Linked DNA regions of Homo sapiens: all the other regions are linked to region 1. The links are contacts of gene promoters, found by promoter capture Hi-C in blood cells and fetal thymus (Javierre and others, 2016). All regions are on one chromosome and are shown on one strand. The core of a region is centred on a gene start or on the middle of the fragment in contact, and the rest is flanking DNA. Distances in the headings are between cores, read along the strand shown. Region 1 holds the start of FNDC3B (fibronectin type III domain containing 3B). Region 2 has its middle 69 kb from the start of LINC00578. Region 3 holds the start of TBL1XR1 (TBL1X/Y related 1).

Region 1 (3,044 bases), core at 213-2,712:
GTTTCAGAGGGAAGGCACGTACAAAGGGACACAGGTACCTTCTGGAGCCATGAGTGATCAGCTGGGCTGAAGGCATGGCACCTGAGGAAGCCAAAGAGTCTGGAGCCAGAGAAGGCATTTGGACTCAAATGGGATCTATTGGATTGTACCCTATTGGCACTAAGGAACTACTGCCTACCCCCCGCCCCGGCTTCTCATGCAGGACTATGACCTAGAATTGGAGTTATGTTATAGAAAGATGGCTTCAAGTTCCCCTTTGAGGAGCTCCACAGTAAATAAGCCATTTAGGAGAGAGGTCCCCATTTCTCTGGACTCACCATTGCCTCCAAAAAAAAAAAAAAAAGGCTAAAATCTCCCCAAAAGAATGGCAAATGAACAAGGGAAGGAAGGAGCTATTTCTTAGTGTTCTTTAGACTTTAACAGAGTATTATGTACTGCTATTATTATTTTTTAGGTTAACAAAAGTAATACATTGTCTCTAGTGACTCCCTGAATGCTCCTTTGTAGCTTAATAGTTGAGGCTGAATGTAGCTATTCAGAATACCTGGACAGCTATGGATGGAAGGGGCTTCTCTAGGCTAACTTTTGCTCTCTTGTCTCCTGAATAATCTGAGGGGTGGCATGGGATGCAGTCTGTTAACCTCTTAGAGCCTGTACAACAGAAATACATTACATTTGACTTAATATGAACTCAACAGTTATTTAATGAGTCCTATTGTGGTCCTTGCACTGTGCTATATTTTACGGATATAAAGATAAAAGTAAGAAACAGTCTTTGTCCCTGAGAAACGCATTGTGAAATAAGGCTGGGTGAGTTGGCTCACGCCTGTAATCTCAACACTTTGGGAGGCCAAGGCGGGAGAATCACTTGAGCGACAGAGTTCCAGACCAGCCTGGGCAACCTATTGAGACCCCCTCTCTTCCAAAAAAGGAAAAAAAAAAAAAAAAAAAAAGGGTGCGGTGGCTCATGCCTGCCCCGTGCCTGCAGTCCCCAAAACAAACAACAACAACAACAAAAAACAAAAAACAAAAAGAAAGAGGAAAGAGAGATTTTAACTTAAGTATAATAAAAATTGCTCATACTATGTTAGTTGTATGAATAAAATGCTGTGGGAAATGTGGGAGTAATATAGCTCACAAGGTTGCTGTGGGGGTTAACAACAACAAAAAGCGAAATATATGTGTAAATGAAAAAAAGTCAGTTTTAGGCTTAATTATCACTGAGTAAACATTGCCTTTATATTACTTTGGCGATCTGCAGAACGCGCAGCCCTCGCCATTCAGGAGTTGTTAGTTCCCTAAGCCTCAGGTTTCTTTAGTCTGGCTGAACCAAAAGGAGTTTCTGCTTAGCTAGGCAGGGCCGGGGGACAACAGCTTCTGCGAGTCTGCGATTGTGGCGGCCGGTATATTCGGCGGTTTACGGTAATGGGCGGGCCCCAAATCCCCATGTGGTCCCGACATCATTGACATGGCGGAATCCCCCATCAAACCCTCCTGGTAGTTATTTGAGCGGCGGCGGCGGCGGCTGGAGGAGGAGAGCGGCGGCGGCGGGAGCAGCGAAGGGGGCGGCAGGGATCCTCCAGGCTGCCGGCTGGGAAGGCGTGGGCGACCCGGTGTGTGGCGCGCCCAGAGCCCCGCGTTTCAGCCCTAGGGAAGGTAAGGCGTGCAAGAGCCGGGGACTAGAGGAGACCGGGACCCCGAGCGCGATCGCCGGGTCCCGGTGCACTGGAAAGCCCCGGCCTGACGCCGAGTCCGCCAAAGTGCGTCCCTGTCCCGGGAGCGCCCTGGGCTTCCCGGCAAAAACTTGGCGCCGGAGTGCTGGGGCGCCCCGTGCTCGCCTGGGCACCCCGGGAACACGGGACCCGGGAGGGGGCGGCCCCCGCCTTGCTGGGCTGGGGTCCCCCGCCTGTGCCCCCTGCCTCAGGGTTTGGAGGAGTGAAAGAAACGGGTAGATTCCTCTTAAAAAAAATTGGGCAGTGGCTCGCGGCCTCCCCCCACCCCCAGCCTTCCCAGCAGATTTTGTCCGAGGAATCCGCTCCCCCTCCCGGAATCTCCGCGGCAGGAACGCTGCCCAGGAGGGGGAGGGCGGGCGGCGAGGCCGAGGAATCTTCGACGTGTCACTTTCTGAGGCTGTAGATTTCCATATGGTGGAGGGAAGAGGGCGGGAGTGCGAAGTGGGGCTGGAAGTTGGGGCCGCCTCTCCGCGCCGGCGGGGGCGGTCGGGGGCCTCGAACCCGGGGATGCTCGCGGGGAGGGTCCCGAGCCCGCGCCGGCCTGGCCCCCCCGTCCCCGGCTGGGCCTCTCCGGGACACTCCCCGCCCCGCTGCTGGCCACCTCCGAGCACGCCACGTCCTCCTCCCCGTCCTGCCCCCCGGGCTCCCCCCGGGCTGGGGGCGGTAACCGGCGGCCGCGGCCGGACTTGGCGAGCCGGCGGCTGGAAGCTCGGGCGGGGGAGCGGGGCGCGGCGGGAAGGAGCGGGCGACCCGGTGTGTGGGCCAGCGGAGCTCCGGTCAGTCGGTCACCCCGAGGGGCGCCTCGGCCGGGGATAGGGCGGGCGGGCGGAATCTGCGCCCCGAGGCGGCCAGGAGGGGCCGCGCGGACCGTCTGGTGCCCGCGGCTGGGCTGGGGCCGGCAGGCGTGGGAAGGGCCTGTCACTCTCGGCAGAAAGTGGGGCCTCGGGCTGTGCCCGCGAACTTTCCCAGAGGTCCGGGTCCCGGCGTCCCGTGGGAACCGGAGGACCCGGGCCCGCCGTCTCGGGAGACTGGGCTGCGCCGCCCGGCGGCGCCTTTGGCGGGGAGGCTTCCAGGAGTGCGCGGTCGGAGTTGGAGCTTTTGGAATCTCAGCTCCCACCCTGCCATCCCAGACGAAGGGAAGCAATGGCATTTTATCCAGACAGTGCCGTTTGCAGACTTCCTTAAAAGTTATAACTTTTTGTTTTCTTTTCTCCTCAACCCAGCATTTTATTTAAACAAAATTTAGAATTTGGCCGCAATGGGCCAACGCTGGGGCCAAAAATCCACAGGTTTCTCTCTCCATCCCTGCTG
Region 2 (3,044 bases), core at 221-2,720, 5.3 Mb after region 1:
AAATCCTTGTGATGTTTTGCATGGACTTTGGCAACATGTAAATAATGTGTAAAGCAAGTTTTTATGATGAAGGAATCAAATTTATTGAATTTTATTATTGAAAGTTGAAACTTAACATGTATGGACAAAAAACAATAAAAGAATATACTCTTTTCATGGACAACAACAACAACAAAACTACGTGCCTCGATATTGTTTACTGAATCAAGTAGAGATTTTATTTTGAAGCAAGATTATTTATTAGCATAACTAAGACCATATGCCTTGATTAAAAGTAACATAAAAAGTAGAGAGACTAGGTTCTTTCTAGGAAATGTCAAGGAAGAAAGGCATTAAAGAACTGTGAGAAATGAAAAAGACTGTAGTTCAAACCAGGGTCATCCAGGGCCTGGTGCTTATATGACTGTGGGAAGGCCTTTTTAAAAAAAAAATTAGAAAGTACATACATACAAAATTAGATGTAGGTCTTGGAAGGAATCAGGGCTTAGGCTTTATTAGCTTAGTAGTAAATCTACCTCTGGGTCAAACAAACATGGCCTAATAACTGAGTTTATTTGTTTTGAATATTCATATTTGGATCAAAGTGATACAATCATGTGGTATCAACTCAAATTGTGCAGAAAAGTTTATAACAAGATTCTCTGGTCCCCCACCCTCCTCATCCTTAGTTCCAGCCCCAGAGACAACCTATTTTAGCTTTATCTTTCCTTTGGTGTTTATCACAAAAGGTTTAGTAATATATGCTCATAATTTTTTTATGATTAATCAAATTTAAATAGTACCTATTGACTCATTGCTATGGCATATGAGGATTTATCTTATTTTATGCCACCTCCTCTCAATGTTTGGTAGTAATTATTATTGCTTTTATTATTGTTTAGTAGCTTAGTCTAGTAACTAGCTTTAATTTTAGTTTTGTGTAATTTAGAAATTGCTCCATGATCTAATTCCACTGTCATTCAATGTGTAGCATTTCTGCTGGTTTCTTTTGTTGCTTCCCTTGCACACTAGATTCATAGTGCCCCTCTCTTCCAGCCCCACCCCCTTTGCCTATTGAAGTCCTTTCCATCCTTCAAAGCCCAGATCAATTCTTACCTCATCCATAAATCTCAGCTGTTCCAATAGACTTTGTTATCTCTCTTTGAATGCTTCTCACTTGACTTCTGCAACACGCAATTTAGCACTTAATTATAAAGCTTATTGTTTGTTTTTGAGCCCAGCCGCCTCCCCCTCCCTGGAGCCAGTCACTATATCTGTTGCAAGGCTGGCTCTCAATAAGTGTTTATTGAACTGAATCATTCTGTTCTCTGTTTCAGATTTGTGAGTCTTACCTGCCTCACTAGATTATAAATGCCACATATTCTTGCATTTTCCCATAGTGTAAAACATAGAGTAGGTACTCAATAATAAAAATTGTTGAATAATTCTGATCTTTTGCTTCATCCACATTATCTTGTAGCATTTCTCCTGCATTTACTGGAAGGTAGGAGAGGGTAAGTGAAAGCATACTATTTAGTTTTAACTCTGGGCCATATTTTTAAAAATATATTTTATCTACCTTTTCTTCGTGAGCGTAATTCTTTTTCCTCATTCACTCACTGAGTTCCCAAGAAGGTTGTTAAATATGGCTTAAAAATTATCCTTCAAGGCAGTTTTTGTGTGCAGAAAAGATTACTGAGTTTTTTCGCTTTAAAAATTAATAATCAATTAATTAATGTTACAAATCCACACATGTAGTTCTTTTTAAGCTTTTAAGTTCAGTTTATAAATCTTATTTTTCTGTTTATAAATCGAGCAAATTTTAACAATCATTTTTAAAGCAGCCTTTGACTAATATTTGGTCCTTTTCACAAACTTAAATAAACAGCCTGGAACACTTTAAATTTCATTTATGATTTAAATGTGCTTGATTTTCCTTTTATAGACTTTAGTTGCTTGCTTTAGCTAACAGACCTTTTCTAAGTATTTAAATAACTGTTGTAAATCTAACAAATCAAATTCAGCTATGGGAACACTAAAATCTCTTAAATCTTCCAATATTATATCATTAAAATTGTGTAAATCTAAACTCTAAATCAATAACTCAATCATATATTTTAAGGTGGAATTACAGGGCTGAACTGTTACATGAAGAGGCCAAAGTCTCATGTGACTTTTTAAATTCCAAATATTCACATATCCCTTAATAACAAAATTATAAAGATTACAGGTTTTTTTTTTTATTAAGCATTTATCAACTCAATTTCCAAAATTTATGGGAATTAAAGGATGCTTATCTGGCTGGTCATGATAGCACATGCCTGTAATCCCAGCACTTTGGGAGGCCGAGATGGGAGGATTGCTTGAGGCCAGGAGTTTGAGACCAGCCTGGTCAACACAGTGAGACCGTGTCTCTATAAAAATGTCAAAAAAATTTTTTTAAAAAGATGCTTATCTATTATGAAGCAAATGTATTACCCTGATGAATTTTGAGGATTGCCCTCAGTCTTAGTCAGTTCCAGCTGCTATAACAAATTGCCATAGACTGGGTGTGTTAAATAACAGAAACTTTTCTCACAGTTCTGGAGCTGGAAATCTAAGATCATGGCACCAGCATAGTAAGGGTCTTGGCAAAGGTCGTCTTCCTGGTTTACAGACGACAGTGTTTTCATTGTACCCTCACTTGGTGGAGAAAGAGATCATTTCTCTAATGTCTCTTATAAAGTCACCAATCCCATTCATAATCTAATTACCTACCTAAGGCCCCACCTTTAAAATATCATCACATTGGAGATTTAGGCCTCAACATATGAATTTTGGAGGGACACAAAATACTTAGTTTGCATCACCTTTCTACTTGATTATGGGAGTTGCCTTCTTGGCTTGTTGAAGGCACTTAATGCCTGGAGAAGATGGCCTGGGTATTAGTAGAGTGTCGTGTAGAACTAAAATGTTCTGGCAGGCTTCTTTTCATAGTTGCTGGGTAAATGGCCTCCATTTGGGGTGATCCGATGTCCACTAGGTTCGACTGAAGCTTTTCCTAGTTTTGTCTGTCAGGGAAGTCT
Region 3 (3,044 bases), core at 322-2,821, 5.2 Mb after region 1:
AAGATTTCAAGTAAACTCCAGACACTGAGAACACCTAATTTTTAACTAGTTTCCAACATTTCTCATTTGTAATCACCAAATTATCTTAGAGACACTTAGATAACCTAACAAAGAGAGCATTTTTTAAAAGCCACAACCCAAATTTTACATGAAATACACCATTTTCACAACCTAAATTTAATCCCGGTTGCCACTGCGAAGTGATGCCTGTTTCAGCAAATTAAGAACTTCCAAAAATACTGAACACGTTAACACATGCATGGCTTCCCTCGAGCTGCCATTTAAGATTAATATTCCACTTAAATAAAAGTCTGCTTCTGTTCAAAAAATTAAATCGGTTGCAAAGAGGAAGTTACCGAGAAACCACCCTCACAACGTGGCCTTTACACTGTCAGAAAATAACGTGACTCTGTGCCACCCAAAACTTACCAGGAAGCTGGCAATAACTTTGCCAATTCTACACTCCTGAACCCAACTTCAAAGAGCCTCCACCAAATACCTCCTTAAGACGATAAAAAGCACTAAGTTACAAATAAACACGTCCCGGAGCAAGGCCCGGCTGCCGCGCGCCCCTCCCCCGGCCGGCGCCCCCGCCCCGGACGCGCGGCCCCAACAGCCGCCCGCAGCCCCCAGCACGCCGGCCGGGGTCGCCGCGCCCGGGCCGGGGACGCGCCCGGGGAGGGGAGATTTCCATTGCCGCCCGAGGTTTCACAAAATAGCATGCACCGAAAAGCTCCTTCTCCTCTGCTAAAAATAGGCTATAAAGGAGTCGGCCTCATGATGGCTCCTTGATTCAATTTGCTGCAAATCCTTTCCTGAAAGCCTCCCCCCCCAAACACACACGCACAAAAAGGGGGTGTAAATGCACGAAGGGAGGAAGAGGGGGAGAAGGCCGAGGTGCACATTTTCGGGGACAACATAATTAGGGTGAGGATCCCCCGAGACCGGGAAAGGGTAGGGGGGTGGGCAGGCACGTGAGCATTTCAAAGAAACCTGAGAGAGGAAAACGGGGGGATGGGGGCGCCCCAAGTGCCCTCCCTGCCTTCCCTTCCCCCACGCAAGCCCAGTTCCCCCAAGGGCCAAGTTGAAAAATGCATGTTCCACTCGCGCCCATCCCCCCGCGGCCCAGCGCCCCCGGCCGCCTCTGGCCCGCGCCCCCCGCCCAGGCCCCCGGCCGCCCCCACTCCAGGGTCCGGCCCCCAGCGCTTACCTGGAAACGGTGGCCTCCAACGCCGCTCCCCCCTCCCGGGAATGGAGGCACAAGGAAATTCCCCTCCTCGCCGCCGCCGCCACCGCCTCCAACCACCCCCAAAATAACCCCTCCGGGGGGTGAGAGGCAATTATAACCCCAGCGAGCGGAGGGCGCGGGGGATGGGCGCCGGGCGGGCGGGGGCGGGGAGCGCGGCGCGGGTCCCCAGGTGGCGAGCGGAGGTGCTCCCGCCGCGGGGGGAGGGGCGGGGGCGCACGCGGCCGGCGGCGGGGGGAGGCGGCGCGCGGGGGAAGGGCGCGAGCGGGGAGAGGAATTGAGGCAGAAGGTAAAAGCTGTTACTAAGGGAAAGAGCCAAACGGTTCGGAGCAGCCAACGGCTCAGACACTCAACACTGGGGAGAGAGGAATGGGGACCAGCCAGGCACAAATGAGCTCGCGAGGCCCGCGGCGGCGGCGGCGGCGGCGGCCGCGCAGCAAAACAAACCCGAGCGGCCTGCGCCGGGCGGGCGGGCGAGCGGGCGGGCGGGCGCGCGGGGGAGGGGCCGGCGGGGGAGGGGCGCCGCGGACGCCGGGAGGCGGCGGCGGCGCGGCGGGGGGGCTCCAGCGGCCGCGCTCCTCTCCTTCCCGGCCCGCTCTGGCGGCACTGGGGGCTGGGCTGTGCGGCGCATTCTTTTAAAAATCAGGCGAGCCCCGCGGGCACTCGAAGGCGCCTCGGGGCCCCGGGCCGCCCGCCCCGCCCCCACCGCCGCGGGCCGGCCTGGGTGTGCTCGGGTGTGGGCCGCTGGGCCCGAGACGGGTGGGGGCGGGGAGGCCCGCGCGGTGGCCGGGGTGGAGCCGCCGGCGAAGTTTCCCCAAGGACGCCGCGGGCTCCCGCGTGTCCGGGGGGCGGCCCGGCGGCGTTGGGGGCTGGGCGCACACGCGGCGGGCATGTGGGGGAGTGCGGCGCGGCATCATATGGACATTTGTTTGTGAAAATCTCTGTGAACACCTTTGTGTGCGTAAATACATATGGTTCTCCGAAGCGTACCTGGAAAGGTGCTTTATCTGTAATAAGCGACTTTCAAAATGTGATCCAGAGCACGGGATCTGGAGAGAAAACACGCACACAAGAAAAGGTTTTTGATACTAAACACAAAGCTGTAATTGAAGTATTTATGCCCAAATGTACTGTGAATCAAGCATATGGTGGTATTTATCATCTGGTGGGTCTGTTTGAAAGGTTTGCTCGATCAGTTCTTATTTCACAAAAATAAAATAATGTAACTAAATGTTTACTAAATATATACCTGCACAGTGGCATCCACAGTAGAAGTTTATCCACTTTGTGTACTTTTTGCATGTGTGAAGCACAGCAAGGCGGTTTATAAAGTATAACTTAGATGAGTGATAATGTGGCAGTATGGTTGAGGGAGGGTTGTTTTTAAAGAAGGGAGGCACCTCACAGGTTTTAAAGCAAATGGGGTGGTAATCTTTCTAAGACTTTCAGAAAGATGGGGTAGGGTGCTTTTTAGAGCTTTGTATAAGCTCAGGACTGGAGAAGCAGCCACCCTTTTACATTAAGATACGACTTGAAACCTTTTTGTTATTTCGCTTATTACTGCCTTCAAAGCAAAATAATGTTTGCAGCTTTCTTAAAGGTGAAGGGTTCTGTTTTCCTACTTTCATCAGAATATTTGAAAATAGATGTAGTGATCACTTTAAAGCAACCATCATTTCCTCTCAATATCAGAAACCTGAAGTTTTGCGACACACACACACACACACACACACACACACACACACACACACTACTCGTAACTTGCACCAGTCTGGACTCCTGGTGGCCTAATAAGTTC

What was found. Contacts are between HindIII fragments. The CHiCAGO score rates a contact against its expected background, and 5 or more counts as called.
Region 2: a contact is called between a fragment that was not itself captured here and the fragment with the promoter of FNDC3B in region 1, in 1 of 17 cell types (total B cells). The highest score is 5.2, in total B cells.
Region 3: the fragment with the promoter of TBL1XR1 here is called in contact with the fragment with the promoter of FNDC3B in region 1 in 2 of 17 cell types (total B cells and naive B cells); the score reaches 11.7 in total B cells.

The regions. Positions count from the first base shown.
Region 1 is chr3:172,038,116-172,041,159 of GRCh38, forward strand. FNDC3B (fibronectin type III domain containing 3B) reads left to right here and starts at 1,463. Exons shown (of 26, transcript NM_022763.4): 1 at 1,463-1,656. RefSeq lists enhancers at 1,283-1,950, 1,951-2,617 and silencers at 1,536-1,715, 1,856-1,955, 2,136-2,385, 2,446-2,815. The HindIII fragment of the contact is 7,479 bases long and covers 1-3,044 here.
Region 2 is chr3:177,370,953-177,373,996 of GRCh38, forward strand. No RefSeq gene overlaps it. Among named protein-coding and RNA genes, the nearest start is that of LINC00578, 69 kb to the right of the region's middle. The HindIII fragment of the contact is 552 bases long and covers 1,195-1,746 here.
Region 3 is chr3:177,195,911-177,198,954 of GRCh38, forward strand. It overlaps TBL1XR1 (TBL1X/Y related 1), which reads right to left and starts at 1,572. Exons shown (of 16, transcript NM_024665.7): 1 at 1,211-1,572. RefSeq lists silencers at 614-663, 1,144-1,243, 1,354-1,543, 1,784-2,163 and enhancers at 1,149-1,658, 1,659-2,166. The HindIII fragment of the contact is 6,955 bases long and covers 1-3,044 here.